Regions from separate parts of the Homo sapiens genome. Here region 2 is linked to region 1. Evidence: promoter capture Hi-C in human tissues and cell types (Jung and others, 2019). All regions are on one chromosome and are shown on one strand. The core of a region is centred on a gene start or on the middle of the fragment in contact, and the rest is flanking DNA. Distances in the headings are between cores, read along the strand shown.

Region 1 (2,741 bases), core at 202-2,701:
TGCAAGAATTAAATGATGATAAATGCAGGCTGGTTTGTACTGATGCCAGGTGCTTTTTACATAGTCACCAGCAGGGAATGTCTAACTCCCTCCATGAAGTTGCCTACGCAAAGCTCTCTTTCAATTCCTGAACCTCTTTTGGTCAGTCTGTGACCCCCTTGTAGCCAGTGGAGTTGCTCTTTTAGGGTTGTCTGTCCAGCTAGACTTTTAGCTCCCTGAGGACAGGAGCTGTTCCTTTGTTCCCTCCCACAGCAGCCAGCCTGATACCGTCCTCATGGATCTTGTCAATGGATCACCAACAATAATTGCTGAAGAAGCAATAGTATGATTCCTACTTTTGCATTCGATACTGACTTTTCTGAGTAGGTTTTAGCATCTGGCATGCTTTTCCTTGGTTTGCAGCTCGACAGTCGTGCTGTGATTCCCTTCTCCCAGCAGTTCAGGTTATTAGCCATTACTTTGTTTCCGCTTTGGTCATTTTCTTTGATTTCCTCAGCCGCACATTACCTGTGTTAAGATTTCCGCTCATTGCTTCAAACTTAAGGAGTTGAAGAGGGGCTCAGGAGGGCCCAGTTAAGGTAGCCCTTCAAGGCTCCGAGCCCCATCCTGCCCAGCCAGGAGCTGCTGGACCATCAGCCAGTCAGGATGCTTTCTGGGCGTCAGCAGCCTCATCAATAAATTAAGGATATAAGTAGGACCTGCCTCAAAAGGTTAGAAGATTAAAAGTACAGTGGCTAGAATGTATCACACCCTCAATCTCTACAAACCCTCCTCTGACTGGGGCGGGTGGGGTGACCCGTGGGCAGCTGAGCGAGGGGAAACTTTCCCGGGCTTTCCAGCTCTTTAGCAGGCAGCAGGCAGGGCCCAGAGCGCCGGGCGTGCAGGCTGCAGCGGCTTTGCTTCCCCACGTTCCTCCCATGGGAGGACTGGCTGGCTTCAGTAACCCCTGGTGCTGTGGGAGCGAGAGCCAGACCTCACTGCCCCACCGCAGAAGACAAGCAAAGCCATCCTCGCTGACCCTACCGGCAGCATGCACTTCAAAATTAATAAAGGCTGCTCCAAAGTCTCTCCTCTTCAAAGCACCCAGGGCTGCCTCCCTCCCCAGTAATCAAGCCGGTTCTCCACACTCCCCGCTCCGACTTTATTGATTTGCCTGAAAGGAACCCAGTGCCCTCCCCAGATTATACCCCTGGAGGTATTGCAGGCATCGGATCCTCCACCGCTCAGTCAGGCCCCGACGGGGGTCTCCGCCAGGCTTGGCCCCTCCCCCAAGGTCACCCAACTTTTCCCTCTGTCCCCGCGCCCGGCCCGGGGCGAGAGGGGGTGGCGAGGTGGGGGCCGGGTGGGGCGCCACGGGGCCGGCGCTGGCCCCCTCCCCCGCGGGGCGGGCCCCGCCATGCATTATTCATTGGCCAGAGCCGGGCTGCGGGCGCGAGTGCTGATGTCAGGCAGGCGCGAGTGCGGCGGGCGCAGCGGCGGCGGCCGCCCAGCAGCCCGGGCTCGGGTGGGGGGGCGCCGAGTGGGGGTGGCGGCCAGCATGCTGCTCGGCTGCGGCTCGGCCTCCCACACCCGCGGCTCCCTAGTCCTCGCCAGCAGCGGCGGCGGCAGAGCAGCGAGCGGCGCCCGCGTCTGCAGCGGCGCCGGGTCCGAGCGCGCGGCGCGGCGGTGGGGGTCGGGGCCCGGGCGGGGAGCGGGGACCGGGCATGGCGCTGCGGAGAGGCGGCTGCGGAGCGCTCGGGCTGCTGCTGCTGCTGCTGGGCGCCGCGTGCCTGATACCGCGGAGCGCGCAGGTGAGGCGGCTGGCGCGCTGCCCCGCCACTTGCAGCTGTACCAAGGAGTCTATCATCTGCGTGGGCTCTTCCTGGGTGCCCAGGATCGTGCCGGGCGACATCAGCTCCCTGTGAGTGGGACCCCTCCAGCCCCCATCCCGTCCCGCCCCACCCTGCGTCCGCCGCCGCGAGGGAGTTGCCTCTGGCGCCGGGCCAGCGCGACCCTGACCCACTCCCCAGGCCCCTTCTTTGCCTTTGTGTGGGGGACGTGGGTGGAGTGTTGGCCCCCGGGGAGGACGGTGAGGACCTGAGCCCCAGAATCTGGGAACCCAGACAGGTTCCTGTGGCAGCGTTTCTCAGAGTGTGGCCCACGGGCCACCTGCATCAGACTCACCTGGGGAAGCTTGTGCCAATGCAGAATCCAGCTGCTCTGAAGCAGTCTTTGGAGTGGAGTCCTGGAGTGTGCGTTTGACGTCCCCGGGAGACTCAAGGGTGCATTAAAGTTTGAGAGGGCGTGTGCGTGTGTGTGTGTGTGTTTGCGGGTTGGAGTTGTGTGTGTAGGGGCGTGCATAGGAGCAGCTGAACACGACCTGACTGAGTGCAAACTGGGCAGGGTGAGGCCTCACTGCCCCACATCAGGTCTGGGGCGAATGTTCACCCCGTGGCCTCCTCCCGACTTCTCCACATTGCAGGTTGCAAAAAGTCGAGGTCAAGGCATGCAGGCTCTGGGAGGGGAGGGGCCGCCCCCCGTGGCCTAGAAGAGGGGTAACAGAAGGCTGGGCAGAGGTTTGGGGCATGTTGGGCGCCTAGCCCAGTGGCCAAGTGCTTTGAAGTCAGCCTTCTTGCCCTGAGGTCAGGAGGGCTTCTTGCCCCCTTTCTCCATCACACAGTTGTGTTGGCTGCTTTTTCAGCAGGAGGAACTGACAGGAAAGGGCTTCACATTAGGTATCCACCTGCCGAGAGGTGCTTTCA
Region 2 (2,700 bases), core at 74-2,573, 240 kb after region 1:
CAAGAATCCTTGGGAAATAAACATTTTAAGGAGATGTTTTTCTCTGAAACCAAAAGAAGAGCCAGGCATGGTGGCTTATGCCTGTAATCCCACCCCTTTGGGAGGATGAGACAGGAGAATCATTTGAGTACAAGAGTATGAGACCAACCTGGTAGAGACCCCCATCTCTAGCAAAAAAAAAAAAAAAAAATAGCTGGGTGTGGTGGCATGTGCCTGTAGTCCCAGTTACTCAGGAGGTTGAGGTAGGAGGATCGCTTGAGCCCGGGAGGTAGAGGCTGTAGTGAGCCGTGATAGTGATCGTGCCACTACATTCCAGCCTGGGTGCTGGGTGACAGAATGAGACCATGTCTCAAAAAAAAAAAAAAAAAAAAAAAAAAGAGAAGAAGGAGGAGGAGGAGGAAAAGGGGGAAAGAAAATTCTCCCTCAAACCCAGGTAAACTCTGACTTCTTGTTTCTTAAGCCTTTGACACCTCTTCCCCTCGGGACCAACTTGATTCTTCTCCCACAGCCTCTTGCTCAGTTTGAGCTGTGAATGACCAAGTGCCTTTTTAAGGGCCTCCTTTGTACGTGGATCTGGAAGGGAGGACGGTGTTATCAGAGAAAGAGGACAGTGTTATCAGAGAAAGAGGACAGGGGCCCTTATCCTGAACCAAATAGAGGCACCAAGCCTTTATCTCCTTCCTGGGTCTGTATCTGGGAAGAACCTGCCCCTCTTGAGCCTTGGGTGTGTTTCATCCCTCAGCTGTCTCCTAGAAGGAGCTCTTGCTGGGAGCCTGAGCTGGCCAGGGCCTCTCTGCTTTCCTAAGGAGGTGGCTTTTTAGAGTACCTGCTGTCCCATAAGTGGCTCCCGACACCAAAGCCATGCAACATCTAGAAAGGCCCCCTTTCTCGTCACTCCAGATTCCTTTTCCTAACACTAAAATCCTCTTGGACTGGTCTTTGCAGATCCACAGGAGGAACGGTTTCTTCCTCCCCTCCTTGCCTTCCTCCCCGCTCACTCCACCTCCCCACTAACCCCTCAGAGCAGCCAGGGAAAGTACATTTCCTTCCCAAGAAGATGATCCAATTTGTTCCCAAGAAGAGGCCCGTTGCCCCAACCCAGCTTCAGACTCAATAAGCACACTCCGAGAAGAACAAAATGAACCTCAACTTAGCACCCACCTTTCCAGCTCCTCCAAGAGAGCTTTCTCTCCTGAAAAGAGAGCTGCACCCAGCCAGCCCAGGAACGCAGGCTGTCCCTGGAGCCTGGGCTGTTAGCGCGAGTGCAGGAGGCCAGCCCAGAGGAGTGGTCAGCGTGAGGGAGCCAGTCATTGGGCCAGTTCAGGGAGGAAAAGCAGGCCAGACCTCCCCGGGTTGTAGAATTGCTTCGCCTCCACCTCCTCCCGCTCTGTCCCCACCTCCTCTGCCCCTCCCATTTTTGGGTTTTCGGGCCAAGGATTCCATTCCGCGACTTCACCGGCTTGTAGCCAGTGACCTTCAGCACACAGCAGGGGAATAAAAATGAGAAAGAAAATCGCCTGTTTGGAGAGGTGTACAATGACCTCTTTATTGAGAGGCCCTTTGCTTTTCTGTAAGTCAATAACTTATTGACTTATTTTTGCTGCATGGAAATGGGCACCTTGCAAATGTGCGTGGCATTTGCTCCAGAGCTGTGCTGTCATACCTATGAGAGCAGAGCAGCGGGTGGGTCGTGATGACACACTCAGGCTGCAGAGTCCCAGCCTTGTCACTTCCTATCTGTGTACGCCTGAAGCAGCTGCACCACTCCCTGCACCTCCTTTTCATCATCTGTAAAATGGGGGTGTGAGGCTGTCCACCCCGCACGCCCACCGTGAAGATCCAATGAGATCATTACTCGCCCAGTGACAACACAGTGGCTGGCACTAGCCGCACTCATAAGTAATCATCATTGTCATTGTCGTTACCGTTATTATTAAAGAGATGAAGGAGTCTTTTTAAAAAATGTGTTGTCTGGGAGAACTAGGAGTGTTTCCCTCCCGACGTCTGTCCTTTTTTTGCTGCCATGAACTTTTCTCAATCATAGCAGCCCTTTCCAAAAATAGAAGCTCTTCTTTCCCAGAAAAGCCCATGTGGGAAAAACCAGGCAGCCTGCTTGCTGGCCTGCCCGTCCTCCTGCATTCCTGCAACAAATGTTTATTGGGTGCTCATCCATTCCAGTCACCATGCTGTATGCCGGGCACCCACAGCTGCATGAGTCACCTTGGGGGTTCATACTCTGGGGACGGAGACAACAACGTCAGTAAATGCATCCAGTACAGAGTGGGGAGCGCAGCGACGAAGAATGAACAGGGCCTCGTGAGGTCCCAAACACCCGTTTCGGTGGCAGGAAAGCTTATAAAAAATCTAAATCTCTGGATCCCACCCCAGGATGGGTGACTTAGTTACCAGCAGGAGCTTCCTAGAATCATCTTGGAAAAACTCAAACTAATGATCTTTATCCAGGGACAGGCATTCTGCGAGATAAGAGGGAGACTTCCCAGAACTGAGACTCCAGCCCTTCCACCCTACCGTCCTTCCTTCTGGCCCGCTGAGAACTCAGGCACCAGTAGCTCAGTCTTGCACCTCTGCATTCTGTTGGTAGGCGTAGTTATCCTCAACTAATGAGTTTTCAGAGTTCCCCATGCCACCCACCACCCCACCCCCACCCTGCAACAGTCTAGTTCCTTATTGTGAATCTTT

Evidence for each region. The method cuts DNA at HindIII sites, captures the fragments that hold promoters and counts their contacts. A contact is called where the count stands out against the background at its distance.
Region 2: a contact is called between a fragment that was not itself captured here and the fragment with the promoter of LGI2 in region 1, in 2 of the 25 tissues and cell types used here (H1 embryonic stem cells and mesenchymal stem cells).

The regions. Positions count from the first base shown.
Region 1 is chr4:25,029,656-25,032,396 of GRCh38, reverse strand. LGI2 (leucine rich repeat LGI family member 2) reads left to right here and starts at 1,451. Exons shown (of 8, transcript NM_018176.4): 1 at 1,451-1,900. The coding sequence starts at 1,704. LOC124900684 (a long non-coding RNA gene) reads right to left here and starts at 2,289. Exons shown (of 2, transcript XR_007058083.1): 1 at 2,164-2,289. The HindIII fragment of the contact is 9,452 bases long and covers 1-2,741 here.
Region 2 is chr4:24,794,113-24,796,812 of GRCh38, reverse strand. SOD3 (superoxide dismutase 3) reads right to left here and starts at 1,240. Exons shown (of 2, transcript NM_003102.4): 1 at 1,162-1,240. The HindIII fragment of the contact is 6,648 bases long and covers 1-2,700 here.